Regions from separate parts of the Homo sapiens genome. Here all the other regions are linked to region 2. Evidence: promoter capture Hi-C in 16 types of primary human blood cells and fetal thymus (Javierre and others, 2016). All regions are on one chromosome and are shown on one strand. The core of a region is centred on a gene start or on the middle of the fragment in contact, and the rest is flanking DNA. Distances in the headings are between cores, read along the strand shown.

What was found. The method cuts DNA at HindIII sites, captures the fragments that hold promoters and counts their contacts. A CHiCAGO score of 5 or more calls a contact.
Region 1: a fragment that was not itself captured here is called in contact with the fragment with the promoter of BBS10 in region 2 in 1 of 17 cell types (M0 macrophages); the score reaches 6.3 in M0 macrophages.
Region 3: a fragment that was not itself captured here is called in contact with the fragment with the promoter of BBS10 in region 2 in 12 of 17 cell types (M0 macrophages, M2 macrophages, naive B cells and 9 more); the score reaches 14.1 in M0 macrophages.
Region 4: a fragment that was not itself captured here is called in contact with the fragment with the promoter of BBS10 in region 2 in 1 of 17 cell types (neutrophils); the score reaches 8.1 in neutrophils.
Region 5: a contact is called between a fragment that was not itself captured here and the fragment with the promoter of BBS10 in region 2, in 3 of 17 cell types (M0 macrophages, M1 macrophages and M2 macrophages). The highest score is 6.5, in M0 macrophages.

Annotation. Positions count from the first base shown.
Region 1 is chr12:75,576,107-75,581,890 of GRCh38, forward strand. The region is part of intron 9 of LOC105369844 (a long non-coding RNA gene); the gene reads right to left. Among named protein-coding and RNA genes, the nearest start is that of KRR1, 67 kb to the left of the region's middle. The HindIII fragment of the contact is 686 bases long and covers 1,529-2,214 here.
Region 2 is chr12:76,347,036-76,352,733 of GRCh38, forward strand. BBS10 (Bardet-Biedl syndrome 10) reads right to left here and starts at 1,380. Exons shown (of 2, transcript NM_024685.4): 1 at 1,127-1,380; 2 at 1-752. The coding sequence starts at 1,323. It overlaps OSBPL8 (oxysterol binding protein like 8), which reads right to left. Exons shown (of 24, transcript NM_020841.5): 24 at 4,762-5,698. RefSeq lists enhancers at 686-1,635, 1,636-2,585, 1,732-1,781. The HindIII fragment of the contact is 11,737 bases long and covers 1-5,698 here.
Region 3 is chr12:75,533,739-75,538,894 of GRCh38, forward strand. The region is part of intron 12 of LOC105369844 (a long non-coding RNA gene); the gene reads right to left. Among named protein-coding and RNA genes, the nearest start is that of KRR1, 25 kb to the left of the region's middle. The HindIII fragment of the contact is 1,508 bases long and covers 948-2,455 here.
Region 4 is chr12:75,381,286-75,386,347 of GRCh38, forward strand. It overlaps a transcript of CAPS2 not described here. Among named protein-coding and RNA genes, the nearest start is that of GLIPR1L2, 7.3 kb to the right of the region's middle. The HindIII fragment of the contact is 1,274 bases long and covers 2,968-4,241 here.
Region 5 is chr12:75,553,535-75,558,997 of GRCh38, forward strand. The region is part of intron 12 of LOC105369844 (a long non-coding RNA gene); the gene reads right to left. Among named protein-coding and RNA genes, the nearest start is that of KRR1, 45 kb to the left of the region's middle. The HindIII fragment of the contact is 3,280 bases long and covers 244-3,523 here.

The DNA of each region.
Region 1 (5,784 bases), core at 622-3,121, 770 kb before region 2:
TGGTAAAACCCTGTCTCTACTAAAAATACAAAAAATTAGCTGGGCATGGTGGCATGCTCCCGTAATCGCAGTTACTCAGGAGACTGAGGCAGGAGAATCGCTTGAACCCAGGAGGCAGAGATTGCAGTGAGCTGAGATCACGCCACTGCACTCCAGCATGGGCAACATAGCGAGACTCCCTCTCAAACAACAATAAAAGCGGGCAGATCATGAGGCCAGGAGATCAAGACCATCCTGGCCAACGTGGTGAAACCCCGTCTCTACTAAAAATACCAAAATTAGTTGGGCATGGTGGCACGCACCTATAATCCCAGCTACTCAGGAGGCTGAGGCAGGAGAATTGCTTGAACCAGGGAGCCAGAGGTTGCAGTGAGCCAAGATTGCGCCGCTGCACTCCAGCCTGGTGACAAAGCGAGACTCCATCTCAAAAATAATAATAATAATAATAAGTTACAAATGTAACTCTCATACAAATTCATAGTGAGCATAGTATGACAAAGATTTACTTAAGTTATTAATGAGGATCCAGCGGGATGTCAAAAATAGTTCAAAGAAGGATGTAAGTCACCAATGAAAGTATAAGAAAGAATGCGGGAATATGATTGCTAAATTAGATTCAAAACTGGTTAATGTACTACACGACAATCAAAACATAAATTTTAGAATTATCTCCCTTTTAGAGAGAAATCATTGGCATCTCATCTGGACAAAAATCATTGTCATCCAATGAAATTTCTACAAGTTAAGAAGTAATTTTATAATTTGGACTCTAATCAATAGTAAACAGTAATCAGGCAAAGCTATATTTCAAGAATCAGATGAGCCTTCATCAGGCTTATTGGACACTGCTCAAGCAAAACTTGGGAATGTCATAGTTATCATTTTGCTTTATTTCCAAATTTTGGAAATTTTTTTAGCATATTTATATGTATTTTTCTACAGAGAACAGCCAAAATCTAAAGGGATTTTCAGTTTTTAAAAAGAGAGAGTAAAACCAACCAAATTTAAAAAATAAAATAGAACAGATCCCATTCGAATTTTTCAATAATTGCAAAAAGTAAGAAAAACTTGTTTAATTCTGGAAGTTCTTGTTTAACTGAATTTTTTCTTCATTGCTAGTATAAAAATAAAAATGCTCAAATATCTCATGGTTTTAAAATAACACAGCCATAAAAAGCAGTTCATTTGTTATTGTAAGCTACCATATTATCTTTTTATTTTACTTTAAATGAATAGCCAGCATTTACTGAGGTCTTACTATGTAGCAGGAGATTTGACATACATTATCTCGTAACAACCCAGTGATGCAGTTACTGTCACTGGCCTTGTGCTCTAGAGGAAGAAGTCAGCTCAGAGAAGTAAGTCAGCTCCACTGTGAATATTTGGACCCAGGGTTTTCTCACTTTATTTTATTATTACTATTTTTTTAGAGACAGGGTCTTGCTTTGTCACCTGGGCTAGAATGCAGTGGCATGATCACAGCTCCCTGCAGCCTCAAACTCCTGAGTTTAAGTGATTCTCCCACCTAAGCTTCCCAAGGCCTGCAGGTGAATGCCACCACGCCAGGCTAACTTTTTTTTATTCTTATTATTATTTGTAGAGATGGGGGAATCTCTTTTTTTTGTTCTTATTGTTATTTGTAGAGATGGGGGAATCCTTATATTGCCCAGGCTGGCAAATTCCTGGGCTCAAGCAACCCTCCTGGCTCGGCCTCCTAAAATGTTGGGATTATAGACGTGAGCCATTACATCCATTATAGACGTTATAGACGGAGCCATTACATATATTAGAGACCACAGATTTGCCCACCACTAGCTTCTTTCACCTCTCCCAGAAAACTCCTTGAAAAATAAACATGTTTATTACATATTCATTGCCTACTTCTTGTGCAATCAATGCATAGTGTATGCAAACTGCCTTGCTAGCTTGGGGCCTGGCACATAACACAAGTTAGTTTCCTCCATCTCTGTCCACCCTCCCATCCCTTACAGAAGTAACAGGTTGCTAAGGTTCTGTTTTATCCCTTTTTCTTGGCAATATCACAGTTTTAAAAATAAAAGCTATAAAAATGACCCCAAAGTCTACTTCAAATTCCAGATATCGCCTCCATATATCCATTGGCTTGTTGGGTTTCTCCATAAGATGTCCCTCTAGCATTTCAAATTGTGTCTCAAATTAGAATATACCTGGCACAGAGATGTCATCATGAATTTAAGCTTTGTTCTAATATGTTTCTCCCCTAATAACGATGGGCATATGTGAGCCCAGGGTGTAGGAACATCAGTTTTACTCAGTGGTAAGTAAAGTGTAATATTATTCCTCCCCTAAAATATTCACATGGCTCATTCCCTCATCTCTTTGAAATTTTTGATAAAATGGCTCCTCCCTAAAGAGACTACTTGACCATCTCATCTATCACATACCTCTTAGCCCTCCCAGTCCTCCTGTCTTGTTCTATTTTTTTTCTAGCACTTATCACCTACTAAGACCCTATATAATTTACTTTTTTGTCATGTTTATTGTTACTGTCAATCTCACTTTACAAGAATGATGGTTCCACAGGGCAAAGATTTTGTTTGTTTTGTTTACCAGATTGTCAATGCTGCCTAGAGCAGGACACATGGTTGGTACTCTATAAATATTTGTTCAGTGAATGAATGAATCGATGATAGCAAAACAAACACAGCTACGTTATAGTATGCACAGAAAACATGTATGAATTGAAAATGTGACACATCAATGGAAATAGTTAAATTTTTTCTATAACTTGATACACATTTTTCACTTAAATAAAAATTTTAAAGAAAACTTCTAACACTACAAAAATGAAAATCACTATCACTTGCTTTAAATACAAGACAACCTTACTAAAAATTATGTAATTACTAACATAAATATTACATATGTACTCTTTAAAATCTCCATTTCACTGGGATCACACACCTCATACTTTGGGAAATATTAGACTAAGAAATTTAAGGAGATTCTATATTAGAGATTACTAACTCCTAAACCTGGAAGTGGTTATGGAAACTATCTCATTTTAGAAATAAAGAAATGGAAGGTGAGAGGGTTTGAGTGTCTTGTTCCAAGCCAGACAGTGATGTTTAGGGGTCTGTACCACCTAATTATTCTGCTCTTCCATGACACATGTTTGCTTGTCTCTAGCAGTGTTGTGCCATTCACAATTAAGCAAATCCTCTCTGGCATTTACCTGCTTCTGAGCCTTTCTTTGTCTGAACATTTTTGTTTGCTTTCTGACTCCTTTACCCTTATAGACCAGATTCATCCTACACTTTGTGTTTCTTTTGCAGCATTTATTTGTGCTCTTCTGTATTATATTGTTCTTTTTTTGTACTTGTGTCATATTTCCTACTTTTCTTGAGCTTCAGTATAGTAACAGTTTTATTTTTAAACTGTCCCTCTGTGATACCTAACATTATACCTAATAGTGAGTTTGTGTTCAATAAGATTTTTACAAGAACTCAATTGAATCTTACTACTATTTGGGAACAAAGCATTAGAAAATGAGATGCTGGTGGTCTTTATATACTATGGGGCCCATCTGTTTGCTATTACCTGTTTCCCACCTGCTGTCATTACCAGCATAAAACTCCATCTGCTACTTCCTCTTCTCTTCCAAGCCTGACTTGGCACTAAATCTGTCAGACTCTACATTAGAGTTGACTAGTCAGCATTACTTTTCCGTAATGATTTTTCCTAATTACTACATCTTATTTTATTTTATTTGGTCCTCGAGAGTATCCTTAAGACGTGAGTCAGGTAACTAGCACTAAAATCAGGACAAATCTGTCAAAACTGTTTTTTAAAAAGCATTAAACAAGCATTCAGATTTGAAATTGAAGTAGAGGTTACAGATGGGTGAGTGTGACCTTGGGAAATCACTCAACGTTTCTGGTTCTCAGCATTCTTTCCTTTATGATGAGAGAATTAAGCGCAGTGTCTCTGAGATCCCTTCCAAATGTAACATCCCTGATAGCAAAGGTTCATCCCTGAGGACATCCTCATCCACTGCATTTTATTCTCTCATCATAGAGGAGAGAATGCTGAGAACCATCCTCAATGGCATCGCCTTCACAAGTCTTTCCTGACCCCTATCCTGATCAAACTGAATCCCATCTTTCAACTTCTAAATGCTTAATTCTCACCTATGTTCCTGTCTTACTTTATCCTATACTGTCGTCAAGCTAGCTGTGCCTTACTCCATCACACTGCCTTCTCCCTCAAGTCGTGGGTTGCTGAAAGCAGTAATAATCTTTGCAACTCCCTCAAAGGTCTAGTAGAGTGTGTTATAGCTAGCACAGGCAGTACACACTGGACAAATTAATGAATGAACTGAAAAAGCATAATATCATAATGATTCTGTCCTGGAAGAAATAAAAACCAAAAATGCTACTGAACAAATCAGATAATTATAGAAATTTGAACTGGGCGTGGTGGCTCACATCTGTAATCTCAACACTTTGGGAGGCTGAGGTGGGCAGATCACTTGAGGTCAGGAATTTGAGACCAACCTGGCCAATATTGGAAAACCCCGTGTCTACTAAAAATACAAAAATTATCCGGGTATGGTGGCTTATGCCTATAATCCCAGCTGTCTGGGTTGCTGAGGCACAAGGATCACTTGAACCCATGAGGCGGAAGTTGCAGTGAGCTGAGATGGTGCCACTGCACTCCAGCCTGGGCAACAGAGTGAGACTCTGTCTGGAAAAAAAAAAAAAAAGAAAGAAAAGAAAAGAAAAAGAAAAAAAAAAAGAAATTTGAGCCATAGCCACCATTATGAATTTTAGTCACCATGGAAAGTGACTCCAGAAAATAAATGTAATATACAATTTAAACATAATAGCAACATATGGTATGTTTAATATGTAAATACAGAAGCCTATATAGAAGAAGAGGCCATGTTACAGAATGATCAGGAGTGTAGACTATAGAGATTGTACTTGATGCCTGGCTTTCATCATGACTCCGATACTTTGTATGAGCTAGGGGAAGTTATGTGACTTTCTATCTCAAATTTATCATTTGTAACATGGAAGTATCTAGTTCTTAGAGTTACTATGTGAAAAAAATGAATGTCTGGCACATGTTGAGTATCTGGCACATATTAAGTGCTTAAGAGATGGCACATATTAAGTGCCATTATTTTATATTCAGTACTAAAATATTTTAGTATGCTTGTTCTTTAGCCCACAAAATGGTAGTAATAATGAAAGTTTTCTCCTAGAACCACTGTGAGATTTTTCAGTGCTTATGGCTATTGAATACATTCTGGTTATATTATTGGATTCATACAAAAATATCTTAACTTAAAAATAGCTAAAAAGCGCTGAGGCATTTTAAAGGTGACCTGGATTCTTGCTCGTCTCAAGCCACTTTATTTTTCCAGGTTGAGAATCATGTAGTATTGGCTTTTTAAAAAACTAGCAAAATATATATTTATCTTCTAACTAATGGATGTACAGCAGACAGAAAGTTAATGAGTATTGTCTTAGTCTATTTGGGCTGCTATAATAAAAAATGTCATAGACCAGATGGCTTAAACAACAGACACTTATTTTTCACAGTTCAGGAGGCTGGAAAGTTCAAGATCGAGGCACGGGCAGACTGGGTGTCTGGTAAGGGCCTGCTTCCTGGTTTGTAGACACAGCTGTCTTCTTGCTGTGTCTTCACATGGTGGAATGGGTGAAGAAGCTCTTTGAAGTCTCTTTTATAATGACACTGATGCCATTCAATGAGGCTCCCCACCGTGAACTCCCAAAG
Region 2 (5,698 bases), core at 130-2,629:
CTGGTTGTTTCACACTAGATATGAGCAATTTTACATTCTGACTATGTAGATGTTTCATTATTGCTTTTGTCTTTTCCATAATCCAAAATTGAGATGTCTGAAACTGTGCTTCTGAATTTAGAATAAACTCTGATCCAGAAGTGGAAAAAAGAGGCTGAATGGTTTCTGTTACTATCACCATTCGCATGTCACCATCTGCTGGGCGGTACACAGAAAAATCTTTCTGAAGCACAAGACCAGCTATGATCCTGGAATCTGAAACAGGAAGGCCAGTGACACCAACATTCAACTCTACAAAATGGTCATCCACTAACTCAAATACACCAATCCCACTTTTACAAGTCATACACTTGAAAAAGTAGTCACACATCAACTGTGAAATAAATTTATGATTATTTCTTCCCACTCTTCCACAAAAGTATGCTTCTAAGAGCAACTCTAAAGAGCTCCTACACAATGTTCTCTCTTTAGCAGACGAAAAGATAGACAAAAAGTGTCTACTTAGGTACTGGTCCATAATACCGTCTAATATTTGTGTCTGAAACGTTAGGAGAGCCTGGGAAATAAATTTCCACCGAGAACAATTTTTCCAATGCCTTCCATGGGTTTGAATGTTTTCACACATCAAAGGATCCTTTTCTCTGTCTGTGATTGCATGAAGTCCTCTAAGCAAATGGCAAAGAAAGATAATAAATGTTTTTGCACCATCTCCTGTTTTTTTGAGATGACTGGAAACACAGTCCACTATCATCCTGTACAAAAAAGAAATAAAGCAACTCATTTTCAGAAGGCTGGCTTCCCACATCTTAAAACCATGTTTACACAGCCATAAGCATAAAATGAGAATATTGTTCCTTGGATACATCCTTAGTTTTTTCCTTTCTTGGAAAAAACTCTGCTCTATTCCAAGATTCCACCGTTGGGTGGAGTGGGGAGAAGTGGTCTTGAGAATTGGTAAGATTTGGGGTGCAGGAGTGTTCCCTTGGGCAGGGCTCTAATTCCGAGCATACAGCGGTTTCACCCGAGGTCAGTCTTTCTAAGTACGCATCGCCTCAGGATGGGACAAGAGCTCCACAGAGGCTGCCTGGGGTGCCCGGCTACGGGTTAGCGTGTGGGACGCGGGTACCTGGCTATGGGATGCTCTAAGTGTAGCGCCTCCAGGAGGCGGCCTCCATTCCGGCTGAGAAGCACCTCGCCAGTGGGCTTCGTACACAAAACTTGCCGTCCCTCGGGCCCCACGCAGCAGCTCACGATGGCTTCCAGCACCTCGGCCACCTGCAACGCCGCCTTCACAGACCCTGCAGCGGCCATAGAACTTAACATATCTGGGCCGCTTCCCCTTTTTGACCAGCTTGCAGAACACCCGGGCCGACCGAAAACAGGGGTGGGAACGGCCGGAAACGGAATAGGCGGGGAGAAAACCCGGAAGCCAGGAGTCGAAGCCGGGGTAGCACGGCTTCTTGGTTGGGCGAGAGGGCTGCCCTTCTGTCCGCCTGGTGGAAAAGCCCTGCAGCTTTGCCAGGTGGGGTGAGCTGGCCCGTTGTACGCGAAGGCAGAAAAAACAGACTAGGATTTCCAGCAGCTGTGCCTGGAGCGGCAACCCTAAGCCCCTCCCCGGCTCCCTAGGTGAATTCATCTCCCTCCAGTGGCGTCCGCTGCCCCCAAATCCCTTAGTCTCCCGAGAAACTTTCTTCCTAAGTCAACACGGTAGTGGGGCCTGCGTGAAGGAGAGGGCACCCCGGTTGGAACTCTGCTGGCTTTCATCCCCTGCCAGAAGCTGCTTTTTCCGGGGCAAAACCTCTGCCTTGGATTCACGCATGTTCCTGTCCACATTCCCCACGAGTTGCTCTCCTTACCATAACGGAAATAATTTGTAGATGCAGGACAGGTGAGGAGAGCCTGGCCACAGCCATGAATTGCAGGCTTTATGTCTGCTGCAGAGGCTTTACCACATTTCCTAGACTCAGGTATCACAATAAAACTCTAGACACCACAAATATATTAAGCAGAAATGATGCGAAGTCTCTATTTTTTGAGATGGACTCCCGCTCTGTCGCCCAGGCTGGAGTGCAGTGGCGCAATCTCGGCTGACTGCAACCTCCGCCTCCCGGGCTCAAGCGATTCCCGTGCCTCAGCCTCTCAAGTAGCTGGGATTACAGGCATACGCCACTGTGCCCCGCCAATATTTGTATTTTTAGTAGAGATGGGGATGTCACCATGTTGACCAGGCTGGTCTCGAACTCATGACCTGAATGATCCACCTGCCACGGCCTTTCAGAGTGTTGGGATTACAGGCATGAGCCGCTGTGCAGATTTAAATCCATTAATCACGTCGGTGATCAACAGTATGCTTTAAAACACATGGCCAAGGATTATTGTATATAACCCAAAGACAGAAAATACTGTCTCTTATAACATTTTTTTTGTTTTTTAAGAGATGAAGTTTCACTCTGCCGCCCAGGCTGGAGTGCAGTGGCGAGATCATAGCTTACTGCAGCTCCGCATTCCTGAGCTCGTGATCCTCCTGTCTTAGCCTTCAAGTCGCTTTGTGCCTCACTACGCCTGGTTATTTTCTCTTTTAGTAGAGACAGGGTCTCCCTGTGTTGCCCAGGCTGATCTTGAATTCCTGGCCTCAAGTGATCCTCCCAACTTGGCCTTCCAAAGTTTTAGGATTACAGGCATGAGCCACCTTGCCTGGCCTAAAACACAGGCACTTGAGAGCATGGGCTTTGGATTCAGACCTGGATTTGCTCTGTCATTTCCTTACCTGTGGCATTCACCAAGTAACCTCTTTGATCTCTGCTTTTCTCATCTTTAAAAACAATGGGCCTGCCGCAGTGGCTCATGGCTGTAATTCCAGGACTTTGGGAGGCCGAGGTGGGAGATCACAGGAGGCCGAGAGTTCAAGACCAGCATGGCCAACATAGCAAAATCCCGTCTCTACTAAAAATACAAAAATTAGCTGGGCATGGTGGTGCATGCTTGTAATCCCAGCTACTCTGGAGGCTGAGGTATGAGAATAATTTGAACTCGGGAAGGGAGGTTGCAGTGAGCCAAGATTGCACCACTGCACTCCAGCCTGGGCGACAGAGCGAGACCTTGTCTCAAAACAAAACAATCCCCGCCAAAAAAACCAGTGGAGATAACATATACAAAATAAAAATCTCAAGAGGTTTTGAGTAGGTGGAGAATGTTCACTAAACACTTTGCATAGTGCCTGGCATAGTTAGCACTCAACAGATATTTATATTACACCTGTTAGAGGAAAAGGGTCCCAATCCAGACCCCAAGAGAGGGTTCTTGGATCTCATGCAAGAAAGAATTCAGGACGAGTCCATAAAGTGAAAGCAAGTTTATTAAGAAAGAGGAATAAAAGAATGGTTACTCCATAGGCAAAGCAGCCCCAAGGGCTGCTGGTTGCCGATTTTTATGGTTATTTCTTGATGATATGCTAAACAAGGAGTGGATTATTTATGCCTCCCCTCTTTAGGCCATATAGGGTAACTTCCTGACATTGCCATGGCATTTGTAAACTGTCTTTGGTGCTGGTGGGAGTATAGCAGTGAGGACAACCAGAGGTCACTCTCGTGGCCATCTTGGTTTTGGTGGGTTTTGGCTGGCTTCTTTACTGCAACCTGTTTTATCAGCAAGGTCTTTATGACCTGTATCTTGTGCCAACCTCCTATCTCATCCTGTGACTTAGAATGCCTTAATCATCTGGGAATGCAGCCTAGATCTTAGCCTCATTTTACCCAGCTCCTATTCAAGATGGAGTTGCTCTGGTTCAGATGCCTCTGACGCACCCACCAAATTACTGGAGTTGCTCTGGTTCAGATGCCTCTGACGCACCCACCAAATTACTGTGGTAGGTCACCACTCTCCTGGTTTATTATTCCCACAAGTGATATTTTGTGAGATGCAGAAGATTCAACTAGCATAATGGCACAACATACATCATCTAGAGTCGAAGCATGCCAGTATTAGCAAGAAAATGATCTTGTAGATGTTTCACGAGGTTGGACAATGAGGGGCCGTTTTCCTTAATCCTTATTGCTATGAACAAGATAGGAGGAACCGGCAGGCCCTCCCATCTTTTTCTCCCCAATTAATAAAACCAAACCAAATGACAGCCAGAAGCAACTGGACCCTGAGCAGAGAGCAAGAATGGGAAGAAAGGAGGGTGGGGGAAAACCAGAGAGGAATGATGTCTCGGAACTCATCTGATGTTGACTCAGTATGGACTAATAGGTGATCTGAGGGGGGAAAAAAAAACCCTTTCATATGGATTTCGTATATGTTTAATAGTAGGGTTTTTTTGTGGTGCTACTCATAACAAAGGGGTTACATTACTCAATATAGATTCAAGCAGTGGATTATATTCCTGACATTTAGAAGTGAAGTGCTATTAGAGTTCTATTTAAGTGTACCACGGAGATACAGATTCAAACTTGTGCTTTTACTCTTAAAGTAAGAGTCGGCTACCACTCTTACTCCGCAGCTTTTGGAGACTTTCAACCTCTCTGAGCCTCAGCATCTTCATGTATAAAATCTGGCTAACGTCCACCTAAGGTTCTCATAGAGGATTCGAGAAGAATGAATATAAGGCACCAAGCAAAGCATACTTCAGGGATTCTCACTGTTGAATCCCTTTCAAGCCCTTTGCCATCCTTTGCAGCTATCCCTATCCCCACAAAAGGGGGGATTAAAACAAATTAGCAATAATTTAGTCATCATATTGTATTAAAAGTCACTTGATCACCGTTTGCTCTTTTTAAAAATTTTATTTAGAAGCCTACTTGTAGAAGTTAGCATAATTTTACAGATTATTAGAAAAATTCTTTTCTTTCTGCAAACAGTTATAATAGGTTAGGAATAATAGATTAGAAATGTACTACATTACAAAACAGTGGCCTATAACTATCTGTACATTTACTGTGCACCTTAAGGAAAAGAATTTGACAGTGTGCTGTACTTACACTGCAGGTAACATATTTTTATTCTATCACACAAAACTGACCAGTGGTAGTGCTTGAATTTATGAATGGCCATTAAACAGAACATTTAAACTCAGATGTATATTTAGCATGCTAAAAAGTGAAAAAAATTTCAACTGAAGTTCTGTGGCTCATCAGTTCAAATGTTTCATGGCATTTTTTTTCTTTAAGTGAAAAATTTTGATACTGTAAAACAGTTTTACATAATAAATGCAAAAAGATAACATTTTCTAAATTTTTAGAAAGAATATTCACATTCATTTTGTCATGGGTTTCACGTGGCTCTTCTAAATATATTAATCATATTAATAAGACACTGGTCCTATACAATTTCAACAGTCCATCTTCAATTAAAAACTAACAAAAATAAACAGTATGTAAAGAGTAACAAAAAGTAAATTAAATATACTAAACTCACACAACAGGTAGAATAAAATGAAACCAAATTACATAATGGCAGGTTATACATTTTAAAGAATCTCTTTCCACTTAGTCAAATAAGATAGAAATTGAAATGTAAACTTACTGATTTCTGTGGGATTTTCCCCACTGGTTCAAATTGGAAAATTTGATATAAATCTAATATTTTATTTCTGTACATTTAATATGATTCAATATAATCTGCAGTCTCATGTATGGCTTATCAATAATGCCATCATCACTGTATGTCAAACAACCTCACTGCTTACTAGAAATGCTAAACA
Region 3 (5,156 bases), core at 452-2,951, 810 kb before region 2:
ATTCCTTGGGATTTATTATGACAGATACTGTTACACTTTCTTTAGCTCTCAACTTAAAAGCATATGTTTGGTTCAATCCCCACCCAGAATTACTGGGTTTATATCACTGTCAGGTAACCAATGTCTTCCCAGATAGTGGAATATGTTACTGAAAATATCTTTATTTGCCTTCACTCACAGATTCACACACAGCGGGGGCTTAAATGATCCTTAGTCCTGGGAAAGTGGGTGATGAGGGGGTCAGGAACGGCGCAGGTAGAAAAATGTTCTCTTAGTGGAATGTAGTATTGGCTGTTCACCCAATTTCTGCAGATGACCTAAATAACAATTGCCTTAGAGATGCTGGTAATTTGAAATAAAAATTACAACCTCTATCCGATGTTGGCTAGCATCTCTTGAACCATCTAGTCTTTTATTTATTCCATAAAAATATATCAAGTGCCTTCTCTGTTCCCCAAAGTGTACTGGGCCCTACAAATACTGCATTTAATGAGACAGATGTTGTTCCTAACCTGCATATGAACTTGCAGTGTAGACGTGAAGGGAGACACTAAACTACAGTAAACTAAAAAGCAGCGCTAAACACATGTTTGCGGTCAAGTATTACATATGGGACGCACATAGTGCTATGGAAACCTGTTATAGGAATGTCCTTACTTCTTCCAACTGGTAGAAAAGGACACCAAAGTGATCCTCATCTGGGTATCCCAGTGCAAATGACTTAATTTCCTGGGCTTTGGTTTCCTTGGATAAAAGTAAGAGGAATTGGAATAAATGATTTCTAAAGTCCCTTTCAGTGATAAGGTGCTGGAATCCTTTTCAAATCTTCCCAATCCCAAAAGCATATTCCAATGGCATATTCTCTGCAAGAATAATTTGAGGACTTGTTAATGACTAAGTGCAGACAATGGTTATGTCTTTGACCATCCCTAGAGTGCCAGCAGTGAAGCTTAATTTTAGAAACCTGGGATGCTCACTGACCTCTACTGGAAATACACTACGAAGAAAGTCCTTGTGGAATCCTGTAGGGTCTTACCATCTGTTTCACAAATGCCCCTTTTCTGTGTGCGTACCAAGCTGGGTAGGGGTACTATTCACTTCTGATTCATAGTGAGCTGTCACGTGCCCTAAAAGTGCTGTCTCAGAAGGTTGTATCCTCTCATTTTTCTCCCTTAAGTAATCAAGTAGATAAACAAAACCCCCAAATTATTCTTGTTAGCCTTTCATCACCAAAATAAGGGGAAGAGTCACATAAACAGAGAAATAGAAACCTGCTTATGTTTTCCATGGTTTCTGAAGTAAAGATGCAAATGACTTCTGTAGTAGATGCTGTAGTATGGCTCTTTCAATACCTTTTCCAACCCTTCTCTTGTTTTCCTCTATTATTGATGCCAGAAAATGGAAATGCTTAACTCTCAGTCTCTTTCAGGTCGTGGTAGCTCAATTCTGGCCTATAAGATGTAGAGGAAGTCCCTAGAAACCAAAAAGGCTTCCTATTGCTTCGCTTTTCTCATTCTTCCTGTTTGGAACAGGCATGTGATGGCTGGAAATACAGCAACAATAATGAAACTGTGAGGATGAAAGTCATGGTGAAGTTGATGGAACAGAAATAAAATGAACTTGGTTCTTTCATGACATATTAGAAAAGCCGCCTCAGCCTTGAACAATCTTCATTAAACCTGATATTTAAATGTTTACTGGGTTTTTGTTTGTCACAATGAATGTAATTCTAACTGATCAACTTCTAATAATAATAATACTGATTGTATACAGAAAGCTCATATATAGAAACTTCAGGGTGGCCTTGGTGCAGTTGGAAGTAGCCTAAAATTAATCAGAATATCTTCATACTGGTTTAGGTTGTATAAAATCATCCTTGTTATTTCACAGTATTTTATCTTCTAGGTATAAGATTTTGATCAATAACTATTAGAATATTCAAACTAAATGGAAAAGCTGCCAGTCCCTACATTTACTGACAAGAAGACTAAAATACTTTTAATTTTGAGAAGCTCAGTGTTGTGACCACTCTGAATTCAATGGTGAGGTGATGTTCCCCATTCAGAGGGATAGAGTCTAAGGCTAAAATATTTGTTTTTAAAAATGCAAGGTTGTCTCAAGCTACATATCATGGGGCATATTAAACAAAAGTTCCCACTCTGCAGAAAACATCCCTCAGATATTTAAACGTTTTGGGAATGTGAGGGGTTGTGACTTATTACACAAAAAGTTTTGAAAATATCACCACTCTAGGCTCTAGAGTCAGCCTACCTGGCTAAAAACCTTTGTAAACCCTTACTGGCAGTACAATTTTAACAAGTTATGGAACTTCAGTAATGTTCAGTTTCCTCATTTGTAAAAAGGAGTTATAACAACAATTACCTCCTAAAACTGCATCTACTGGATAATAGTTACATTTCCAGTAAATGCTATCAATTACAATTATTGTGGCAGAAGCTTTACCTTAAAGTTTGTTTATGTTTCATTTTTGGTTGCTATTACCTTTCTTTACCTGTGTTTAGGTTATGTGGGTCTTATGGATAAAAAGTCATCAGCAGTGTTTTTTAATAGATGATATGTAAGCCCACTAGAGTCCTTGGAGTCCTCGAAGCACCTTGAAGGCAAGAAACATTTTTGCCCAGTGTCCAGCACAGTGTTTGGCACATAGTAGGTGCTTAACAAACATTTGTTAAATAAACAAGTAAGTGACTGCTATGAAAGGAGATAAAGAAAATCCCTTGGGCAACTCATTACTTTACATTTATAAGGGGCCAATATAAATAATAAAATAAATAAAAGCTATATTTAGAGCATAAAGTACCCAATGTCTCTGTATACTAACTTCTGAACTCCTAGAACTTGTTTTTATCTACAGTGTTACTAGCATTTTGAAAAGATCTCAAATGCCTGGGCTTTCTTTGTTATTTATTAGTTTTGTTTGTTCTGTTCAAGTAGTATAGCAATTGTGTGGGAATTAAATTGAAACCGTATGAACGATGTGTTAAAATCTAACATGTTCAAACAGGGGAAAGCAGAACCAGACAAGAAACAAATTTCAAGTCTCAAGAAGCCAATTTTGTATTTCTGCAGACCCCACATATAGAATATAGGCACTGTATTAATAATACATTAATGCTTTTGTCTTCTAAAGAGTGATTTGCTCAACAATAGGCCTTCCTCGGCAGTTTTATGCTGTAGTTGACTGGCATGTATTGTCCTTAAACACAAAAATATAACTATAAATAAAAATGTAAACTGATCAGAGAAGGGAACTCAACATATGCCCCTGATTTCCCTTAGGCATGCTTGGGGATACCCACACTCTTGCAAAGAGAGACAATAAAACAATGATTTCAGGTGCTGTCACTACAGAACAGGTAGAATCAAGAAATTCCTGAAGACACTGAACTGCAATTTTCTAAACTTCAGGTTAGATGAAAAGTTGATGTCTGCTACCTTGTTGATATTTGACACATTCTTGGGTACTATATCTGTTATGAATTCCATTAGTTTTGTTTGGTTACAAATAACAAAACAAGCTAAAAAAGCTGCAGCTTAAAATACCTAGAAGATTATTTTCTTTCATGTAAAGTAGTCCAGAGATAAACAGTCCTAGATTGGTATAAACATATCAAATATTCTTAAATGTTTTCTCCAACTCATGCATTTTAACTAGAAATTTGGCAGACTTGAGCGATTCCATGTGATGGTGTTGCTATGTTTTGATTAAAATGAACTCTTACCTAATTCCAAAATGTATATTTCCCCTTAAATAACAAAGCATTGTCACAATTTATTATTTTTTTTTTTTGAGATGGAGTTTTGCTCTTGTTCCCCAGGCTAGAGTGCAATGGCACAATCTCAGCTCACCACAACCTCCGCTTCCCAGGTTCAAGTGATTCTCCTGTCTCAGCATCCTGAGTAGCTGGGATTACAGGCATGTGCCACCATGCCTGGCTAATTCTGTATTTTTAGTAAAGACGAGGTTTCCCCATGTTGGTCAGGCTGGTCTCAAACTCCCAACCTCAGGTGATCCGCCCACCTCGGCCTCCCCAAGTGCTGGGCTTACGGGCCTGAGCCACCGTGCCTGGCCTAGAATATTTTTAAAAAGCAATATAGAATGCTACATTGATTTAGGGACAAACATAACAGAAACATAAATATATTTAAAAAACAGTTTAAAAATGTGTTCATACATGCATGTGTGTGTGTGCATGACACGCGCGCATCCCAGGCTCACTAAATTGGAATTGACAAAGACTTTTAAATATGTAAGCCTGTTAGAGTAAGTAGTTAGACAGACATGAGCAGGGCAGAAGAGGGTCCCCCCACCACCCAGGAATGCCAGGTGACCATCAGGTGATGGTCAGGTAGTTGTTAAACTGTCTCTCTAAAGTAATAATTGGTCACACCTGGTGCCAGGGAAAGGCAGTCTCCCAAAGATAAAAAACACCCGAAGTTGGTGGTGAGCAGCTTCCTAATAAGATCTGAGGAGTTGGGCAAGTGGGTTCAAGCATGCACACTAAGAGGCAAAATGGCAGAGTTTAACTCATGTATAAACTTTCTCTAGGAACACGCGACTGATAAGGAAAAAAATGCCTCAAGAGAGCATGCGTACAACTTCAGTAAACACACTGTGCATGCAGCCCCTCCAAAATGCTGGCTGGCACATGTGGAATGCCAACATATAAAACCCCAAGTCAAAGGTAAAACTGGGCAGTTGAATCTCTCACGTTGCCCGCTTGACCCCCCTCCAAGTGTACTTTACTTCCTTTCGTTCCTGCCCTAAAACTTTTTAATAAACTTTCACTCCTGCTTTAAAACTTGCCTCAGTCTCTCCCTCTGCCTTATGCCCCTTGGTTGAATTATTTCTTCTGAGAGGGCAAGAAGTGAGGTTGTTGCAGACCTGTATGGATTCACTGCTGCCAACAATCCCATAATTTCTTTGTTAGAGTATCCAAATAGTATCCATGCAGGAGATATATTTTCCCACAAACATTTGTGAAAGGGAAATAAAAACTCAGGACCCCAATTCACTATGCCAAAAGGAAAAAATTAAACTGAAAGTAGAGTCATACAAGAAGCTGCCTTTCCTTTTGTTCCTAAGCAAATAGCTACAGATAAACCGTTATGTTCACCTTATCTTATGTAATGTG
Region 4 (5,062 bases), core at 2,355-4,854, 960 kb before region 2:
TGTGAGAACTTCCCTAGCCATGCGGAACCGTACTAAGTCCAATTAAACCTCTTTCTTTTGTAAATTGCCAAATCTCAGGTATGTCTTTATCAGCAGCATGAAAACAAACTAATACAGCGACAAACGATACTTTAGTTCCAGAGGTCCAAATTCCTCCTGGAATCTAGTTATATACACTCCATCATACCTATATGTGAAAAGAGTAGATGCAGGATGAATATTTCAACTACACTGTTATTTAGACTTTTTTTTTTTTTTTTGGTATATTACCTGTTCATTTTCTTCCTCTATTTTTCTAATGGTGCTGCTGTTATTCATTTTCTTAAGTGTTTTTTTTTTTTTTTTTTTGAGACAGAGTCTCGCTCTGTCACCAGGCTGGAGTGCAGTGGCACAATCTCGGCCCGCTGCAACCTCCGCCTCCCAGGTTCAAGCGATTCTCCTGCCTCAGCCTCCCGAGTAGCTGGGACTACAGGCATGTGTCACCATGCCCAGCTAATTTTTGTATTTTTAGTAGAGACAGGGTTTCACCATGTTGGTCAGGATGGTCTCGATCTCCTGACCTCGTGATCTGCCCACCTCGGCTGCCCAAAGTGCTGGGATTACAGGCATGAGCCACCACACCCAGCCTCTTATGAAATTTGAATGGCTCCCTGTGCATCTGGGATTTTAATCCTTGGACATTTATCTAGCAAATTTCTCAGTTGCCCTATTTTACATTTTAACGAAGTAAAGTCTATCTTTCTACCTTTCAAAGTTGGCTTTTATGTGTGGATCATTTTGCTTTTCTCCTTTAATGCTTCTCATGCACAATTATCTGAATCTTAAATTTGAATTATAGAAAAGATCAATCGAGTATGTAAAGAAACAATGAGAAAGAGTCAATAAAATAAAAACAATGTTTCTAATAACATCTATACAGAGAACAAAATAATACATTTTAGTATCTTCAGTCTTATCCCATGATCATTTTCAGTAAATGTAGATTAAAAATACATTTTTAAATTTGCTAGCTTTTATCCAAATCAAAAAGCATATGGAATTAGAGTATTATTTCCTTAAAATTTCAAGTGTAGACCAGGCATGGTGGCTCACGCCTATAATTCCAGCACTTTGGGAGGCCAAGGTGGGTAGATCACCCGAGGTCAGGAGTTCAAGACCAGCCTGGCCAACATGGTGAAACCCCATCTCTACTAAAAATACAAAAATTAGCTGGGTGTGGTGGTGCATGCCTGTAGTCCCAGCTACTCAGGAGGCTGAGTCATGAGAATCACTTGAACCCAAGAAGCGGAGGTTGCTGTAAGCCAAGATCATGCCACTGCACTCCAGCCTGGGCGACAGAGTGAGACTCCATCTCAAAAAAAAAAAGAAGAAGAATTTTAAAAAATAATTTCAAGTGCAGTGTACAAGTGTACAGAAACTGAGAACTTAAGGAAACTCACAAATCATCTGAGATAAGCAAGAGGCTTAAAGTTTATCCCAAAATTGCTCTTGTTTTTAAAATTAAAGCTATATCTGTTATACATGACAACAGAAATATTAAATGGGTATGCAAAAAGTATATAAGTAGCAGAATTTAAATAATTTAATGAAACCTTATTTTCCACATTCCTTGTAAAGAAATAAATGACTCTGTCAATACCCTCTAACAATTCCAATGCCCTCAGGAAACCGAATGTGATAAATTATTTCCATCACTTTCAATATAAAATAACTTAAAACTGTTTTGCCCCAAATTTCAAAGTTCAAAAATCTACAACCATTCAAACCTTATTAGAAAATGTACACAACCTGTGATTTAATACGTATTTCATGAAACTATGATTAAATAATTCTCATGTATTACATGCCTCTTTAAATTTTTTGAAAATATATATCATAGAATATAATGCATTAAAATTTTTTTATATGAAGTATATAATGGGAGCTGATTCACTGACAGATACGAAAGATTGAATATTTGCAGAACATTGTCAGCAAACCCCACTTCTTTCTACAGAAACCAAATGAGATGCTTTTGTGTGTCCTTCCATACTCCTATCTTAGTCACCTGGGCTTAAAATCTAGCTTTACAACACTAATCAAAAGAAACCAAGATAGCTATATTAATTTTGGCTGCAGCCAACTTCAAAACAAGGAAAGTTATCAGGATTAAACAGAGGCATTACATAATAATAAAGGGGTTAATTCTCCAAGAAGACATTACAATCCTTAATGTATATGCACCTAACAAGAGAGTGTAGAAATATATGAGACAAAACTGATAGAATGACAAGAAGAAATAGACGAATCTACTATTATAGTTGGAGACTTCAAAACACCTCTATCTGAAATGTATAGATTCAGCAGGCAGAAAATCAGTAAGGACATAGTTAAACTCAACAACAACATCAATCACCTGGATGTAATAAGACGTCTATACATTATTCGACAATAGCAGAATATATATTCTCGAGCTCATATGAAACATTTACCAAAATAAACTATATTCTGGACCATAAAACACACCTTAACAAATTTAGAATAGAAATCATGTAATGCCTGCTCTCAGACCACTAGTAATTGAACTAGAAATCAGTAACAGAATGATAACCATAAAATTCCAAAATAAGAGATTAAATGGCACACTTCTAAATAACACATGGTCCAAAGAAAAAATCTCAAAAGAAATTTGAAAATATTTTTAAATAAATGAAGATGAAAACAACTTGGCAAAATTTGTGGGATGCAGCAAAGCATTGCTTAGAGGTAAATTTGTAGCATTGAATAAATATATTAGAAAAGAAGAAAGATCTAAAATCGCATATGCTTTCACTGTTAGAAACTAGAAAAAAAAGAGCAAATTAAACCCAAAGTAAGCAGAAGAAATAATAAAAATTTGAACAGAAATCAATAAAATTGAAAACAAAATTAATAGAGAAAATTAATAAAATCAAAAGCTGGTTTTTTAAGGCATAAATAAGATTGATAAGCTTCTAGCCAAGCTAACAGGAAAAGGGAAAAGACATAAATTATCAATATCAGAGATGAAGGAAGGAACATCACTACAGATCTGATAAACATTAAAAGGATAACTGAGCAACACTGTGAACAACTCCACACCCACAAACTTAATAATCTAGATGAACGGGCCACTTCCTTGAAAGACACATCTCTCACAACTCATGCAAGAAGAAATAGACAATCTGAAGAGGCCTATTCCTATTTAAGAAATTTAATTGATAACTAATAACCTTCCAAAACAGAAAGCACCAGGCCCAGATAAATTCACTGGTGAATTCTACCAAAAATTTAAAGAAAAAAGTGATCGATTCTGTATAATGTCTTTCAGAAGATAAAAGCAAACAGAATACTTCTTAACTCATTCTATGAGGCCAGCATTACCCTAATACCAAAATCCTGCAAAAACATTACAAGAAAAAAAATACTACAGACCAACGTCTCTCATGAACATAGATGCAAAATTCCCCAACAAGATACTAAGCAAATTGAATTCAACAACGTATAAAAATAATTATATTACATGATGGAGTGGAATTTATTCCAGATTGCTCTGGTCTAAATATTTTCCCCTCCAAATTCATGTTAAAATTTAATTTCCATTGAGGCAGTATTGAAAGGTGGGGCTTTAAAAAGATTATTGGGTTATGAGGGCTCTGCCCTCATGAATGAACCAATACATTCATAGATTAATGGATTAATAGGATAATAAGTTAATGGATTAATGGGTTATCACAGGAGTGAGACTAAAGGGCTTAGTAAAAAGGGGAAGAGGGACCAGAGCTAGCATGCCCAACCTTCTTGCCATATGATGCCCTGCACTGCTTCAGGACTTTGCAGAGAGTTCTCAACAGCAAGAAGGTATTTCACCAAACGCAGCCCCTCAACCTTATGTTCTCAGCCTCCATAACTGTAAGAAATAAATTATTTTTCTTTATAAATTACCCAGTTTCAAGTATTCTGTTATAAGCATCAGAAAATGAACTAAGACATAGGTATACAAGCCTGGTTCAATTTGCAAATCAACTAATGTAATAAATCACATCAATAGGCTAAAGAAGAAAAATCATATGATTATATCCATAGATGCAGGAAGAGCACTGGACAAAATCCAGTATGAACTCATAATAAAAATTCTCAATAAACTAGGAATAGTAGGAAACTTCCCTGAGATATTGATAAAGATATCAATATTTACAAAAAAAAGCTATAGCTAACTGCATACTTAATGATGAGAAACAGGAAGCTTTCTCACTAAGATCAGGAACAAGGCACAGATGCCCCTCTCATCACTGCTCTTCAACTTCATACTGGAAATCCTTGCTAATACAATAAGACAAGAAAATAAAAGGTTTATAGATTGAGAAGAAATAAAAATGTCTTTGTTTGCCGATGACATAATTATTTATGTACAAAATCCAAAGAATCAACAAACTCCTGAAACTAATCAATGATTTTAGCAAGGTTGCAGGATACGAGGTTAATATAGAAAAGTCAGTTACTTTAAATTGCTTTCCTATATACTAGCCATGAACAAGTAGAATTTAAAATTGGAAACATAATAGCGTTTAGCACACACAAACAAATACTTAGTCATAAATCTAACAAAATATTTACAAGATCTGTATGAGGAACACTACAAAAGTATGATAAAATAAATCAAAGAACTGAATAAATGAAGAAATATTCCTTGTTCATAAATAGAATGAAGAAGGAATTTGTTCATTCTATTTCCTTGTTCATAAATATTCCTTGTTCATAATAGAATGAACAAGGAATTTGTTAGGATATCAGTAATTCCCAATTTGATCTATTGATTTAATGTAACCCCAATCAAAATTTCAGCAAGTTAATTTGTGGAGACTGACAAAATTATTCTAAAGTTTATATGAAGAGGCAAAAAAACCCTGAACAGCCAATACATTGGATGAGAAGAACAAGGTTGCAGGACTAACACTACGTGACATTAAGACTTACTATAAGGGTACGTGTCTCAGTCTGTTTTGTGCTGCTATCACAGAATATCTGATATTTGGTAATTTATTTTAAAAAAAGATCAATTTCT
Region 5 (5,463 bases), core at 634-3,133, 790 kb before region 2:
GAATGCATTCCTTTGTGGGGAATTTAAAGTGCTTCATTCACATGTCCGCTTAATTGTCACAATCCTGTGGCTGTGTAGGGACAAGATTAGCACTGCATTTCATGAATGAGGAAGCTGGAGAAGGTTGACTCATTCAATGCCACTCAGGTAGCTCTTAGGAAAGAGAAGATTGGAAATGCTTTTCTTATTCTTGGTGTTTCTGCTGTGTGGAACTGCCACTGATTTTAGCATCAGAGTAATCAAAGCTTGACTGCCACTGAGAGATCCAAACATTCACAAACCTGAGAGTCTTGGTGGCTAAACTGCCACAACCAAGAACATACTGAGTCAGATCCTTTTTACCTCCTAATATGTGAGGCCTGAAGCTCAGTTTCTGTGAATTCCTTCCTTGGAAACAGCTACATAATTTTCAGGGCCCTGTGCAAAGTAAAACTGCATGCTCCTTGTTCAAAAAGTATGAAGAATTTTAGGAATCTTTCTGCAGATCATTCAATGAAGCATGCAGGGCATTTCTGAGGTTCCTCATTCAGGCAAGTAGCTTTTTTCTTGCTCTTCTATCATCGCCCAGATCTTCATCAAGTTTTACTGAACTATTACTCCTAATATCTTCTATCTTCTTTACTTGTTTTCAGTAACATTATTCAGTGAACCTCTATGCTGGCATTGGGATGAAATTCCTAAAATAAAAATCTGTTGAGGTCATTACCTTGTTAAAAATCTTTCAAAGATTATTTCTTATCTCCTGGGTAAAGTAAAACTTCTTATGCTTCTCTTTCGGTTATTTACTGGCATATAAAAAAACACCCAAAACTCAGTAGCTTAAAACAGTCACTATGTATTTGCTCACAATTCTGGGTTTGGCAGTTGAAGAAGAGATCAGCTGGGATACTTTGTCCCTGCTCCCTAGGGTATTGCTGGGCTCACTTATGTATTTTGTGGTCAGGTGACAGTTCAGCTAGCGACTAGCTGGTCCCAGATGGCAGTTGACTAGGGCTTTCAACTAGTGTGCCTCAGTTTCCCTCCACATGGGCTCTCCAGCGAGCTGGCTGGGATCTTCTCATAAGGGAGCTGGATTTTAAGATAGTAAAACTGAAAGCTGGAAATGCCTCTTGAGGCTTCAGCTCATAAATTGCACAATGTCACCTCTGCCACATTTTATTCATCAAAACAGATCATGAGACCAGCCCAGATTCAAGATGTTGGAGAAATAAATTTTACCTCCTGAAGGAAGGAACAGCAACATTACATTGCAAAGAGGATGTCTACAGGGTTGTGAGAAATTTGTGGCTGTATTTTGTAATACCTTAGTAACACCTTGCCTTGCATTCTTCATGACCTACACTTACTGACCTTTCCTTCTTTGTCTCCCGTTACTCTCAAAACACAATATTGTTTTGGTAATTATGATGATAATGATAACAACAACAGATACAGACATTGATATTATCTTTGTGTCAGGCATCATAGCTCATGTGCATGTATCATGGCATTTTATCCTCCAAATTCCCTATAATGCAAGTAAATGGATATTTTATCCCCATTTTAGAGATGAGGAAACCGAGACATTCAGGAGCTTACTAGGTCTCACAACAAAAAAGAACCTAAACTGGGATTCAAACTCAGGTATGCATGATTCCGACATTCGTTAACATTGTATCATGCCACACAGCTATACCAAAGTGTTTCTCTTACTTAATGTGTACTCACATGCCTTTATGACATTCACATGCTATTCCCTTTGCCTGAAAAAGCCTATATCTATCTCTTTCCTTGTCTTCCTTTTCTGTTTCATCCCCTTCTTCACACACAACAGAAAAGCACATACACAACTCTTTATGAAAACGTTTCTGATTCTCCCAGGCAGAGTTAGGTGTCCCACTGTGTGCAGATCTGCTTATCTGTTTCTTCTTGAGCATTTACCTTTTGACATAGGAATATTGTCTTATTTTTCTTTCTTTTTTTTTTTTTTTTTTGAGATGGAGGCTCACTCTGTCACCCAGGCTGGAGTGCAGTGGTGTGATCTTGGTTCACTGCAACCTCTGCCTCCCGGGTTCAAGTAATTCTCCTGCCTCAGCCTACTGAGTAGCTGGGATTACAGGCGCGTGACACCTCACCGGCTAATTTTTGTATTTTTAGTAGAGACGGGGTTTCACTATGTTGGTCAGGCTGGTCTCGAACTCCTGACCTCGTGATCCACCCGCCTCGGCCTCCCAAAGTCCTGGGATTACAGGCGTGAGCCACCGCACCCAGCCTAAATATTGTCTTATTTTTCTATGCAACTCTCAGGATTAGTATTTACCTTATAGTCATTGTTTAATAAATGATTATTGAATGGAACTTTTTAAAGCATGCTAACTTTGATAATAATTAAGATTATAGTCAGGCTTGTTGATAATTTTTACTGAAATAAGCAATCGAAGTAGTTGAAATAGCCAAAACAATTGTCCATGTAGAGTTTCAGACAATCTTTTGCCGGTGCCAGTTGCATTAGACCATTCATTCATTTATTCAATTATTCAGGCTTTTACAGGACATTGTGTACTTTGACAAGGCATTCATGCATTCAGTCACACATTAAGAAAATTAACAGATGTAAAAATGAACCAGTCTTATGTTTAAATAACACTGGATTTTCTATTTTGCTTTGTTTTGTTTTTGTAATCAATATAAACTACAGTCTAGATTAGCTAACTTAACACCCATTCCCAACCCTGTTCTTTGCTTGATTACCTTCACTATCGAGGCTATAAATACTATGTACTCACTTTCTTAGCCTCGCTTGCAGATGTGGGTAGTCATGTGGTACAGTCTTGTCAATGACACATAATTTGAAATACGTTAGAAATTGTTTTGTGAAAATTTTATTTTCCTCTTTAAATAAAGACTAGACACTCATTTCCCTTTCTCCCTGCTGTGAGTACAGACATAGTGCCAGGAGTTGTAGCAACCATCCTATAACCATGACAAACAACCATCATGCTATGCACTGCAAAGTATTAAGACAGAAAAAAACTAAATCCCCCATGACACAGTTGAGCTGCTGTATAAGCCTCCTGACTCTCTACATACAGACTTTATGCCAAGTGAAAAGGGAGAGCTCTATTTGTTTAAACCACGATTGGTCAAATTTTTTTCTTACTTGTAGCCAAATATATCCCTACCTAAGGCACATACAGTTTGGCAATACAGTGTGGAAATTACCTAAAAGGATGTGTGTGTTTTGGGGGAGGGGATTATTTTATTTAAACAACAACAGTGTAACATGAGTCTATAAGGGCAAAGATACTTGTTTTGTTTTGTTTTTATTCACTGTAATATCTCCACAACTTAGAGTAGTAACTGGCACATAGTAGGCATTCAATAAATATTTGCTGGCTGAGTTAATAGTATAAATGAGGAGCTGCCTCTTGAATTGTGTATCCTAGCTTCGCTTCTGCAAGGTGTATTTTAGCTGTATACCTTAAATGGCTTTCTGAAACCTAACAGCAACAAAAGTTTCATGCAGCCTCTGACCATAAGAAGAAGCTTCAGGCATCCTCAGAAGAAGTCAATAACTATAAGAGCTTCTAAATCTGGTGAAATCCTATTCCCGTTTTATTATAATATCATAAAAGTCAATTTAAGGGGATACCTGCAAAGGATCTGAAATCACAGCTATAGTGATGTTACATTTGACCTGGGTTCACCTGCTGCATGACTCCGTGTGCACAAATCCCTCATGCTATCTCTCCGACAGGATGTGATCTGGTAAGGAGGCTTTGGAAATGTAGTCATAACATTTGCAGTTTATTGCCTTCTCTCTGTATTCTTCATCAGAGAGATGACAGAGGTTCATGAGGCAGAGAAGTGTTACTTGTTGAACTTTGGGCTTTATGTATGTATACGCAGGTATTTTACTATCTTTCGCATCCAACAACTCTCACTAGATCAGAAGCAACAGATGACATTTGAGTGAATTCTATACTTAAATAATTCATCATGATGCATTATTTCTTCATCTATCTTCAAGAGATATTTTTTAAAGAAGGATCCTTCCTCTTGTTGATCCACTCTAACAAAAATATCTTGCTTTATTTTCAGCACGTAATAGGTCTTTGAGAAAATACTTGTTGTGTGCACAACTAAATTATAAGCTGTCAATGTAAAGAAAAATATGTTAATGTTAATTTAAATAACTAAGAATGAAGTTCATTATCGTGTCAACAATTCATTTGTCACCTTCTGAAAAAAATATTGTCAGAATCACTATTATTCCTCCTTATTAGAGATTTCTAATAAAAGGTCCATGATGATCCTTTAAAACTAGTCCTTTGCCTATCTTCATAACGACTTTTGCTTTATAGAAAACAATACTAGTTATGTGATTCAAAGTGGATTTTTCTTCTAGAATAGTCCTGCCTATAATGTCCAAGGAAGAGCAATTACTCTTTCGAGAACCATCTGAACTAGTCCAACAATTTGCTTGAGGAAAGCTTGAAGTATTAACCTGTTCTCACTTTGTTTTTTAAAAATAAAAACACATGTGGTAGTAAGAATTCAGTTTCCATGAATGTGCTGCATGCTGGTCAGAAGACATGAAGTCCTTAGATTTTTTTATAAGAATTAATACGCATTATGAAGGCCTTTTAGTTCTCCATTTACCTTGGGAGCTCACTAGCTCTAATAAGTGCAATAGTAAACTTTGACATTTCTCTAAATTGTGCCAGGATGTTAGCTATGAGAAACATGTTTGGAGGTTATTTGCCTCATTTTTCTCCTTCCTTTTGCTTTCCACTCAGTTTTCCCCACCTTGCACACAGGTCTGTTTACCTAACTTCGGAGAATTTGTGCTTGGTTTGCTTCAGCAAAGAAGTAGTTGGATTCCTCTATTGATTTTTGACCCCCATTCTAACCTCAACCATCACCCTTCTCTAGCCCAAGGGAGACCTGAGCTTTGTTTTTAAGGGAAAGGGCAATGAAAAGTCAACGCACAGGTCAGGGACAGGCAGTAATGAAACACTGGGATCAGGTGGCAGCAGCTTCAGCTCCTTTCACAGGACACTGAGCAAGAATGAAGACTCAAGGACACCATTCAGAGAAAAGCAGATGGTTTGTATCAAGCGCTTGGTTATGCTCAATCTCCTATCAGCCATTGTTGTCTTGCAGAAACATTTCCAGCTACGCAACTGGCCTGTTTTATGGAGGGACAGAGCAGTTTATGGTAGAGATGCTCTGTAAACTATTTTTATAACCTTGAAGGACATTAGATATAATCTATGAAGCAATGAAAGGTATGAGTGTTTTGGAGATTATCCCCCAACATTAGCTTCCCAGGAGTACCCCTTTTACAAGTCTGTGGTTTATGCTCCTTTGGGCATGGATGTCGGATCACTATTTTGGGAACTGACAACAATAACAGCCAGCTTGACTGTGTTCATACTCTCGAGTGTATATAAGCATCCACAAAATTTGGCTTCTTAATGT